3 separate regions of the Homo sapiens genome follow, and regions 2 and 3 are each linked to region 1. Evidence: promoter capture Hi-C in 16 types of primary human blood cells and fetal thymus (Javierre and others, 2016). All regions are on one chromosome and are shown on one strand. The core of a region is centred on a gene start or on the middle of the fragment in contact, and the rest is flanking DNA. Distances in the headings are between cores, read along the strand shown.

Evidence for each region. Contacts are between HindIII fragments. The CHiCAGO score rates a contact against its expected background, and 5 or more counts as called.
Region 2: a contact is called between a fragment that was not itself captured here and the fragment with the promoter of GLIPR1L2 in region 1, in 6 of 17 cell types (neutrophils, naive B cells, non-activated CD4 T cells and 3 more). The highest score is 7.4, in neutrophils.
Region 3: a fragment that was not itself captured here is called in contact with the fragment with the promoter of GLIPR1L2 in region 1 in 8 of 17 cell types (naive B cells, total B cells, naive CD8 T cells and 5 more); the score reaches 11.4 in naive B cells.

Annotation. Positions count from the first base shown.
Region 1 is chr12:75,389,095-75,393,052 of GRCh38, reverse strand. It overlaps GLIPR1L2 (GLIPR1 like 2), which reads right to left and starts at 1,964. Exons shown (of 6, transcript NM_001270396.2): 1 at 1,703-1,964. The coding sequence starts at 1,936. It also overlaps a transcript of CAPS2 not described here. RefSeq lists an enhancer at 1,903-2,032 and a silencer at 1,990-2,162. The HindIII fragment of the contact is 6,589 bases long and covers 938-3,958 here.
Region 2 is chr12:75,493,525-75,497,482 of GRCh38, reverse strand. GLIPR1 (GLI pathogenesis related 1) reads right to left here. Exons shown (of 6, transcript NM_006851.3): 4 at 1,821-1,906. KRR1 (KRR1 small subunit processome component) reads left to right here. Exons shown (of 10, transcript NM_007043.7): 10 at 1-3,958. Among named protein-coding and RNA genes, the nearest start is that of GLIPR1-AS1, 5.7 kb to the right of the region's middle. The HindIII fragment of the contact is 4,702 bases long and covers 1-3,958 here.
Region 3 is chr12:75,471,941-75,475,898 of GRCh38, reverse strand. No RefSeq gene overlaps it. Among named protein-coding and RNA genes, the nearest start is that of GLIPR1, 6.8 kb to the left of the region's middle. The HindIII fragment of the contact is 193 bases long and covers 2,093-2,285 here.

The DNA.
Region 1 (3,958 bases), core at 715-3,214:
ATTAAAATACTAAAAATAACCAATAAAAGAGTTTAAATAAGCTGAGTGATGTCCAAATCTGCTAAAGAAACATTTTAAATAGGCCATACTATTATGATAGACTATACTATTTACAGTTAATATTTATGTCCTAATAAAATACATGGGAAAAATATACATTAACTTCAAGAAAGAAGAAAAAGGTAAAAATTTAGGGTGGGACTTTAACCTATATATCAAATACTATTCCTTTAAAAATGTCTATATTTAAAAATATCGATTGTGGGTATACAGGTATATTATTTTATATACCTTATGTTTGAAATACTATATAATTTTTAGAGATGAGATAGAAAACCTATGAAAAGTTGTATTAGAAAGTATTATGTGTTTATTAATTTTCAGGAGTAAGGATAATCTTCAAATTGGGAAGAAACAGAATTAGTCACAAAAAATGGGAAATTAGTTGAAACTCCCAAATATCCCCAAACTCTATAATTGAATTCAAAAGAAAAAGAATTGGCTTAGAAAAAAGTATCTTCAGCAGATAGAACCAAATGCTAGCATAGTTCTATAAGACAGCATATAATCTGACATGGAAATGCTGACAATATAAAAGGTAAAGGAAATGACGAAGAAAGAACTCAAGTATGTCCTATCAAAATAGTATTTTAAAATCAACATTAAAACAAATGACCATTTTTGTAATTTATTCATTTAGCAAGTAATTGAACATGTCCAAATCAGTGAGGATGTGGTGAAAACAGAACAGCTGGTATTTGCTAAATTTGGCACTACCCTTTAGCATAGCAATTGCTATGTGTTAAATTAATAAAAAATATCATACCCTTAATTTATTTATCCCATTTCTGAAATTTGTGCTAAGAACTAATGCTGAAGGAAGAAAAGACATGTCTAGGAAAGTAGTCCTTGCAATATAATTTATAAGTTTGAAGCTTCTAATTCCCTAAGAGGACAGTTATTTATTTGCCGGATTTTCAGTCATTTTAATGACAGTCAGGAAAACTCAATAGCAACCAGGGAATAGTTGAGTTGTTAAATGACTATAGGGTGTAAAAGAGGGGGAAAGCAAGAACCGCATTGTAAGGTAAGGCAAAATCAGGGTCAAGACTAGGGTGAGGAAACTGAGACACTTCCTTAGGAGCCAAATTTGGAATGGGCACAAAAAAAAAAAATCAAGATAACAAACATTTTTAAAAGGCAAAGCTAATGTGACATCGATGATGGAAAAAGCTAAAAATAAAAATTTCAAATACAAACAGAATCTCATCTTGATTTGCACCACCCTGAGAGTGTCGCACTTGTTTTTCCCTAATCCAGACCCAAGGAACCTGTCTTTGTTAAATTTTTTAACATTTTCTTTACCCTTGATATTGATATTTTTGCACTGATTTTTAATTTTTAAAAACCCGTTGCATTAAAATATCATTTTCTTGAATTGGCGCCCCCTTAAAATCTGCACTTCAGGCCAGTGCCTCCATCACCTTAGTCCTGGCCCTGTGTAATATCATGGTAATAAGCATGTGTTAGAGTGTCCGCAGTTTTTCTCTGTGTAAACTTCACGTGTACTTTAAAAACCAAGCTAAAAGTGCGGTTCTCCGCGATCCTTCAGCCTCAGAGCAGTGGCCCCAACTACCCGAGATCCAGGGAGGCGTTGTGGCAACGGTAGTGGAAGGGTCGGCAAACCGCCTTCCGGCCTCACCATGAAGCGCAAGTTAGACCCTCGGGGAATGACGTCGCCCCGCAGCTCATTGTGGAGGTTCACGTACTCGTTGATAAAGTCTACGTCCTCCTCGTCTGGCAAAAATCTGGCGTTCAAACTAGAACCCAGTAGCAGTAGCCACAGCTCACAGAGCCGCAGCTTCAAAACGCCCCCTACTGCCAGGGGTAGGGACTGGGCCCTCCACTCCCGGGCGAAGGGCCTTGCGGCCTCCATGGTCCACCGGCCGCTGACAGGCCAGTGCGCACGCGCTGGCCGTCCCAGTGACCTGCCAATCTACGGAGGACGCAAGCAAGCCTTGTCCCGCCTCCCGGAAGGAGAAAGGGAGGAGGGAGGAGGGAAAAACAAAGGAGGGAGGAGGGGGTAAGGAGGAGGGAGGAGAGAAGAGGGAGGGGAGAGTGGGTAGGGGAGGGGGAGAGGAGGGGAAAGCTAGACCTGCAGAGTGAAGAAAGCTGGTAATAGATGTCTGACAAACTAAAGAAAGACTTGTGTTACGTGAGTAAGCCCTTTTCACTAAACTAATGTAGTGAAATGTTATCCCGAATTGATTTCTGACACTGAATGATATGTCGTTATTAATGAGTCATCAGTTTGTATGGTAAATGCCAATTGCTGAGTAACAGGTCTGAGGAACCTTCTAATTGTGCCAGGTGAAATGATTTTTCTGCGATACAGATACAAATTCAATTAAATTTTTTTTCCCCATTACCTGTTGAGTTGGAAATTTGGTGCAGGGCCTGCCTTTTATTTTCCTCAGGGACAGAATGGAATACAGAAATATTGCTAGTTCTTAAGGCCAAAGAAGTTCTTAAGGCCAACTTAATTGATGAGATTTTTTTCAGTTTTTAAATGAACCTTTGTGGGAAACCACAAAATAAATGGGAGTGAAGGGAGAGTAGGGATCACCAAACTCTTCAAAGGTTAAAACATTTCTACTTCTTCTCTCATCAGCACAATTCAGACAGCCCGGAATATCAAGATTCATCTTTTTCACTAATTGTGGCATTCACAGTAAGAACGAACTCTTTTGTTTTCTTTTTTTGTTCCAGACAAAATTGGCTAATATCTAGCTGATTTTGGTCTGATCTGTTTACCTCCAAACATTTTCCTCAAAAACAAAACAAAACAAAACCAACTTGCTTTGAAGACTTTAAATTCTAAGCATGGAAAAAAAGCAAGTATTAGTTTTGGAATACACGTTTGCATATTACATATTGTGCTTAATAGCATTAAGCAGATATGGAAAATTGACATTGGGAGAGAATTTTACTACAAAACATTGTAACAGGTTAGCCAAACATTTATAAAAAGAAAAGTGCTTTTAAAAATTGTCTGTGATGCACACAATTGAAAAACAATAGACCTATGTAAGATGGTTTCATTTATGCCCTTGAATACTTACTACTATGACTGCATAGTAGTAAGTTTTAAGTGATTGAGAAAGATCAGTAGACAAGACACAGATCCAGCTTTCAAGCAGCTTACAATTTAGTGAATTAGCAATCAGGCAGTATTTAAAACGTGATAAATACAAAGCCAAAATTCTATTGCTTGGTACTCTTGTGGAGGAGCAGGGAAGCCTTTCTGGAAATTGTATACAGAAAGTGAAACAGACAAGTCTAAGATAGCATTCTAAACAAAGGGAAAAGCATGTAATGTGCCTAAGGAGAGGAAGATCCTAAACGCTAGAAGTATTTTAGTATGGCTAGAACCTATTTAAGGGTGAAGGTGGCAAGTGCTGAAAGATGCAATTCTTTTATTATGGTGGTACTGTTGTTAGACTGCAAAAAATGCTAAAGAAAAAGTATAAATAGAATAATGCAATCTTAGATTTGGAAGAAATTTTAGCCACTATTGCTAGCCTCCTGTGTTAGGTATACTCTCCGGAACATCACTGACAGGTGATCATCACATCCTTTTCTTAAATAATTAGACCAACAGGGAAGCCCATTCCACTGCTAGACATCTCATTCAATAAATATTTCCTTGGTACTTCCTGTGTGTCACAGCCCAGCTAAAGGCTCAAATGCTGAACAAGCTAGACATGGAGTCTATCCACAGGGAGCTTTTAATTAAAGGTGACACAGATGAATCATCAAACAGTTACAATACAGAGTGGTGAATACTATTTTTAATCTATTTCACAAATATTTAATGTGTCAGGCACTATTTAAAATGCTTGGACAATATCAACTCACTCAAGTCACACAAATCTTAAGAAATAGTTATTATCCCTTT
Region 2 (3,958 bases), core at 934-3,433, 100 kb before region 1:
TAGGAAATTAGTGACAAGATCAATCTGTAAGATGTTGAGCACTTATCTGAAGTAAATGGGTAATGAGTTTCACATCTTATAAATACAAGTTAGCATGTGTTTTCTCAAGAGTCCAAGGGTTTTCATTATTGGACTACAGCTTTAATCTTCTAAATGTTATTCCCCAAGATTAAAGAGCATCTCAAGTTAGATCACCAAAGATCAAAAGCTAAAACCAGAAGTATTTTTGTCATTGTGGTGGTGGTAGTGTTACTAATTGCCTAGATTTTTAAAGGGAAACATTTTTTTCACTGGGTTGTTTCGTTGAAAAAAATAGAAGCAGAAACTTGCCCAAAGTCACAGTGGTCAAACTGGAAATTGCACCAAAACTTGGCATACTGGTTCTGAAATCCATAGTTTTAGCCCTTATGTATACTGGTTAATTTGGAAGGAAGAAATATATACGTTCTGAAGTGAAGAGTGAGTGAAAGGAAGAATTCAGTGAATACATTGATACCTTGATATTATCTGCATTGTGGCTACATGTTACTTTTCTTCACAAGAGTGATATAAGTGAAATAAAGAATGATTGGACTGGGAGAAAAATGGCTCAGAAAACTTTGCAAAAGTACGACTGTATGTAAAGATAAGTATTCAACATTAAATGGGAAGGAGGAGAGCAAGCAGTTTAATATATAGAATTTTATAATTTTAGGCCTGCAAGGGACCTTATAAAACATGAGCAATGGAACACTTTTTTCCAAACTAAATTTCGTGCAGTGGAACTTGGCCGACTCTGTCCTTCCTCTATTCTAAGCACCCTACTCTAGCCCGGCTGCTCTGAGTTCAGTTTGTTACAAATATGGACACGAAAGTACCACAGGCTTTGCACAGCTTAATTGAAGTTTCCCCTTCACACCATGGTAAAAAAACATACTGGGATGGAAGGGTTTGTGTCTAGAACAAGAACAAGAAATAAACTCTTGGTCACTTACTAATATTTCAAAATCACAAAGCAGAATTTTGCTTGGATGTTTAGTAAAACATCCTTGGAAATTTAACTGCTTGCAGCTTCTACACTTCTTCATTAAATGCTGTCTGGCTAATAAAAAGTGCCATGTTGCAGCTTTATTTTATTTTCATTTTTTGGAGATAGACCCTCACTGTGTCACCCAGGCTGGAGTGCAGTGGTACAATCTCTGCTCACTGCAACCTCCACCTCCTGGGCTCAAGTGATTGTCCTGCCTCAGCCTCCTGAGTAGCTGGGGTTACGGGCGTCCACCACCACACCCAGCTAGTTTTTGTATTTTTAGTAGAGGGGGTTTTTGCCATGTTGGCCAGGCTGGGCATGGTGGCATGGTAATCTCAGCTACTTGGGAGGCTGAGGCAGGAGGATCGCCTGAACCCGTGAGATGGAGGTTGCAGTGAGCTGAGATCACACCACTGCACTCTAGCATGGGTGACAGAGCAAGACTCTGTCTCAAAAAAAAAAAACAAAAAAAAAAACGAAAACAGAATTCTGTTTGTTTGGATGACCTGTTATACTTATTTTTGATCTTGCTGAAATAAGCAAATCTTAGGAATCTTAGTCTACAGTTTCTGACAGTTTTTTTTGTTGTTGTTGTTTGACCAATTAGAACTAAATAAAAAGAACGTGATTTTCACATTTAAATTTCTCTTAAATGTATTCCTAGAACAGTAAGCCATTGGTTTAATTGCTACTTGATGCCAGTTTCCTTGAAGATAGCCGTTAAGATAAAACATGGTTTCATTGTTAATTCTGTAGAAAGTTACATGTTACTATTATGTTATTCTATTGGTGTATTGTTCCTTTTACTCACCACAGAGATTGTCCAAACACTTGTCATTATTGGGGCAGGCACTGCAGGTGGCTCCTCTCTTATATGGCCAAGTTGGGTAATTCCCTCTGTAAAGCAGAAGAAGGATGTCCATTAGAAGTTTTTCGGTTTTTTAAAATTGCAATTTACTATGAATCCTTAACTAAATCCAGAAGAATAGTGGAGTGAAGTACAAAGGTCCAGAGAGTTGGTAATAGAAGTGAAGACAGGAAGGCAGAAATGGAAGGCTGCTAATATTTGCATAGTTCATTCTATGTACCTGTGTCTATGCACCTGTTTTAATCTGCATCCCATTTAATTGTGACAGCTCTGAGAGGAAGTTATTCTTGTTTTACAGATGAGACAAAAGATGTAAGAGATACCTTTAATCACAATTTATACACTTCAGAGTCAGAGGAAACCTGGATTTAACTCCAGGGCTGTGCTCCCTCTCTTTACCTACCCTCTGGCCTATATGATTACTGCCATTTAAAAAACTGTCCATCTTAGAAAAGCTATGGTGACCCACATTCAATATTCTCAGTTGGTCAGCCCTCCATAATTTTCACTGGATAGGAGCCATTTGGCTGGTGCCTTCCAAAAAAATAATAAATAATGGTATGGGGGAATTTCTAAAGTACAAATTGTTTTCACATACAAGATGTGATATGAATAATAGCTGCTAATTAGTGAGCACTACCATGTGCTTGTCTTTGTTCTAAACAACCTTGAATGAAATAATCTTCACAAAAACCCTATGAGGAAGTTACTGTTGTCTATTTATACCCATTATATAGCTAGAGGCTGAGTCACAGAGTATAAGTAATTGACCAAGGTCACAGACTAGAAAGTGAAATAATATCCAAGCATTTTATATCCCCATAAATATCCTCATAGTAGTAATGGGGAGAGGGGGCACATTTATCTCAATGAACCTGCCATTGCACTAATTTTTTTTGGAACTCTGCTTTTGGAAAAAGTTCTAAACTTTTTTGTGTAATCGTACCCTTTGGCAGTCTGGTGAGGCCTATGGGCTCTTTCTCAACATAGTTTGTTGTTAAATGCATAAAATACATAGGATTATAAAGGAAACCAATTAAATTGAAATAGTTATCAAAATGTTTAAAACAAGATTTGTGATAAAGTAATATGTGCTTCTCTATTAAGATCTACCGGGGGCTATTAGTTTCAATGCAGTGATGAACACAAACTATATTTTGAGTTCTCTGCAGCAAGTGGAATGTGGTATGAAAATATCTGATATTTACAAAGATGATACTGCTAAGTCAGAGTCACGTTTATTGCTAATATGATGGTGGAGTGTTGTCTTCATTCATAATGAAAGGAAATGTTATTTTTAATAGAGGTTAGTGAAAATAAAAATAAAACTATTTTCTAATCAAAGTTTATGGTCCTCCTCTCCCCAGCACTCTACAATTACCTCCAAAGTTGAGAACTCTCACCTTAGACACACAACTTTATAACGATACCTTATTTCCAACCCCAAATCTATGTTCTTATCTCATTTTGCTCCAAATTTTAAGTTGCTTCAGAAATTTAATTAGCCCTCTGCTTACTCTACACCATGGAAAAAAGGTAATATAGTAGAAATTCTGATAGCAATTTCAAAAGATGTCCAAAATAGACATTAATCATTGGAATGTCTTTCATTGTTAATAAGCACAGTATTAAGTGGTTTAAGTTCTAGAATGATTTTAATAAAGTCATTTATGATACTTAGTTGTGCATTCCAAACTGTAAAGGAAAAGGTAAAAAATGCTACTTAAAAATAAGCTAAAAACCAAGACAGTCGGTGAGGTCTGTGGAAATGGTAGTATTCATCTTGGGAGAAACATGCTACTGGAAAGGCCTGGATTTGTCTAGATGGGAGTCATTAAGACTGTGGGACCTAAAGTATTCAGCACAATAAAGCAACAGGACATTTCAATGTTTTCCCTGGTAGCCTGAGAGAGAAGAGGGTTGGGGTTATGGGACCCAGGGGAAGACCGAAGACAAATCTTTAAAGAAAAAGATAAATATGGGTAAGGGTCCCTAAGGCAGTGACGGCCTAAGCACACTGGTACTATCTTGACTATCTTGTGGTCAAAGTTATTTCCTCTTCTGTGCTATAATCCTCTCCT
Region 3 (3,958 bases), core at 940-3,439, 83 kb before region 1:
AGCTAATTTTTTTGTATTTTTAGTGGAAATGGGGTTTCACCATGTTGGCCAGGATGGTCTCCATCTCTTGACTGCCTCCCAAAGTGCTGGGATTACAGGCGTGAGCCACTGCGCCTAGCCCTTTCCCTCATAAATTACCCAGTCCTGGGTATGTCTTTATCAGCAGGATGAAAATGGACTAGTACACATACATACAGTTGAGGCTACGTTTAACCTAGAACACTTTCATATTTATAGCATTACATTTTGACAAGAGAATAAAATCAAGTTAGGAAAAAATATACCTTGACACTGTAAGTATTATTGCTATAGATCAATAATGGATTTTTGATATAAACTACTCACAATGGTGTTACATTTGTTTCTTGACGGGTTCTTTACCTTGTGACTTTTTATACACTGCATTTGGTATTCATTTGAATAGTCTAAATAAATAACTTATTTTCCTATTAGAAATAGATGTATTTAATGACCCATAAATGATGTTTTATAATTAGTTTTTAAACAGTTTTAGATATTCAGATGAAAAATGTTGGGCAAATGCCACTTGATATTCAAGGTTAATTCTTATACAATGACACTGGAGCAGAGCAATGCTCCTACTAAATATACTCATTTCTTCTAAAATAATGTACAAAACAGTAATATTGGCTTTTTTAGTTATTAGACTGCAACAATTTTATGTTGTATGTTTGGACATTTTTAGCTTTATTATGTATTCCCTTTCTCTACCCAACAAAGGATCATTTTCAAAAATAATTGCCTTTTAAAAATATATAGCTTTGTAAAATTAATTTTTTACTTTAACATCTTTTGCCTAGCTTGGATGATTTTGGGTTATATGCAGTTCTCAGGACTAGGTTAATTATATTTGTATATTCAAGCATAACTATAGCTACATTGAATTCTTCTGGTTGCCAAGGATTCTGCTATGTGATATTTCCTTTCAATTTCTCAGATGTAAGAGCAGAAATAATCTATTCTTTTATACTCTTACTACTTTTCTTTTCTCAATCCCTTTCATTAGTGATAATATATACTACAACCAGATCTTTCTTCCCCAAATGGAGCCAACTGTGTCAGATTAGGATAGTAATACATACCTCACTGATTTTGCCTACAACTGCCTAACATAGGACCTCAACACCTTGTAAAATCACCCACAAAAGGTTGTCTGAGGGTTTCTTTTACATTAACTGGTGAAGAAGTCCATTTCCACCAAGAGCTTATGCTACTTTTCCAGACACTTATCTCTTGTGTGGCCACGGTTCCATGGGTTTCTATTAGGGGTGCCTCAAGAAGTCAGTCCATAGGGTCAGCCCCAAGGCAGTGCTACATGCTCAGACGCCCTTTAGTTTTTACTTACATCTTCCCTGATTGCCTATCTACAGAATTTGGGTTAGGAGATAAATTCGAGTGATGGTATCCATGCTGTTCAGAATCTTCCTTCTCTGTCAAGGGCTAAAGAATTTTCTATTGGGTCAATTTCAGCACAACTTTCTTCCTAGGAGGCTCCTTCATTTACATGAAAATAGGACTTTGATTAGGCAAGCCCAGATATGCCCAAAATTGTACCCAACAGGAAATCCCTGCCCACTATCCCACTAGTTGCCAGCTATTATGCAAGGCATTTTCCATATTTCTATTTCCAGCCTTGAGCTCACCTCATGCACTCAACTGCTACCTGTCACGTCTGCCCCAAGGTCTTCCTCATCTCAGTACATTGTCATCAAAATATCTTCCAAATTCTCAAGTCTAAATCTTGGGATTATTCCTGCATTTTCTTTCTCTCACTCCTCAAATGTAGGCAATTAGCAAATCCTATTATGTCTATCTTTGAAATGTATCCAGAATTCGACTATTTCTCATCGCTCCACCTTCTACCAACCTGGCTTTACTTCTTGCCTGGATTATTACAATAGCTTCTAAGTACTATCCTTGCTTCCTTCCTTGCCCTTTACATATATGCTCCTCTGGCAGTCAGAATTATCCTCTTACAATATAAGTCAGCTATGTCACTCCTCTGCTCGGAGCTCTCTAAGACTTTGATCTGGAGATGAGCAACATGAAGAAACAGCCTCTGCATGAAGCTTCTATTTTTGACAGATAGTTGACAACAGACATGTACAGCTTTTGGGGGTAGTAGTTTAAGAGGTGGTAGTTTTCTAGAAGAGCAGGTAGCCAGAAGTTTTAGAAAAGTTCTGTTGCTGACATTTATTACTCAATAGCAGCAACAGTGATGATTTTCTTTACAGCAGACTTGGTGGGCATTGCCCTAGGAAGCTTAGCCTAGAGACTGTTCTCAGCCGCCTTAATCATTCTGTCAGCTACCTAATTGCTTTTAATAAATATCATTTCCACTTTAGTGGCTTCTTTTCTTTGCAACTAAGAATCCTGACTTTTTGGGGATAAAGGAAACAAAAATTATCAATACATCTCAGAAGACTCCCTCTCAACATTTTCATGTGCCTCTATCAATCTTTTATACATATTCTCATATATATATTTGAAATATATAATACACACATAGAAATTTTGTTTGTTAATCGAGGGCATAATTTCATGCAATCCTGTATCTTGCTTTTTGTATTTATTATTTCATAAGCATGTTTTTGGTTATTATAATCTTTCATAAACATTTTAAGGACTATACAATGTTTTTGCAAATGAATGCATAATTTACATAACACATTATTGTTGAATATTCAGATCTGTTTCAATTATTCCTTATTTTAATAATGCTGTGGATATCTTTATATATTCTATATTTAGTAAGATTGATTCCTAGAATTAGAATAAGTGAATAGGATATGAGTGTTTTAAAGATTTCAAATGTAGAGTATCCAGTTACTCTCTTGGAACTTGTACTAATTTATACTTTCATCATCAGCATATGGGCACTGAGACCATATATTAAACATTGGAACTATATGTATACATGTATCTGGTTGTACATATTATTAAAGAGAACCAGAGCCAGACACTAAAGTGGTAAAGATATATTTTATTTTAAAAAATTGCAAAAAGGAAAAAAAGGCCTTAGTATAGAATTGGGCTCAATTCTGAGTACGATAAAGACACTTGGGGATTTATAGCCAAGGAGCAGAGTCTGGATGGAAAAATCACTAAGAAGAGACATCAAGGATGAGGGGATTCTTGTTAAACTCATCTAACAGGGTTCTTGCTGCGGTCAGGCCAGGATGATCAGAAAAGAATGGGAAATATTTCCTCTAAATTGACTTAACAGGATTCTTGCTAAAACCAGGCTATGCAGGTCTGGGAATGATGAGGGCCAAGATCAAGCCCCAGTTGAGAAGAGGGCTTAGAGGAGCCTGACTGAAGTCTGGTCAAAGAAGGCATGTTGTTAATTCATATATTTAAGTACTTATATTTTCTCTCCCTTTGCATGCTAGATTTTACTTTATCACTTCCTTACTTTAGCTGCCCTTGAGGCAGTTTCTTCAAAGAGGAAGCTGCTGTGGAACTTCTGCTTTTTTCTTTAACTGATGTGATATAAAAAGAGAGTGAGCCACCACACCTAATTTATAAGCACTGCTGGAATCTGTGCTGCTCATACTTAAACAGAGAAGTCACTTTTAAAAATATGGATTTAAAGATAATATTAAGATGAGAATTGAGTAACATGAACTTCTAAACTCTTAAACATTGTTATACTTGTCTTTAAATATTTTTTAAAACTTTCTTTAGCATAGATATATAGCAATGAGCCTTCATCTTCTGCCCTATAGCTTCGACCCTGCCCAAGATTGGGGAAGCCTAATAGTTACATACTAGACTATTCCACTTACAGAGAGTAGCTATCTTCTGCCAGTTCACTGTGTCCCGTGACCATCGGCCTGATACTTTTCATGGCACACTATAGTCTGGCATGTTCTCAGTTCAAGTTTACTTCGTTATGATCCTGAAATGTATGTATTATATAGCTACATGTTTGATG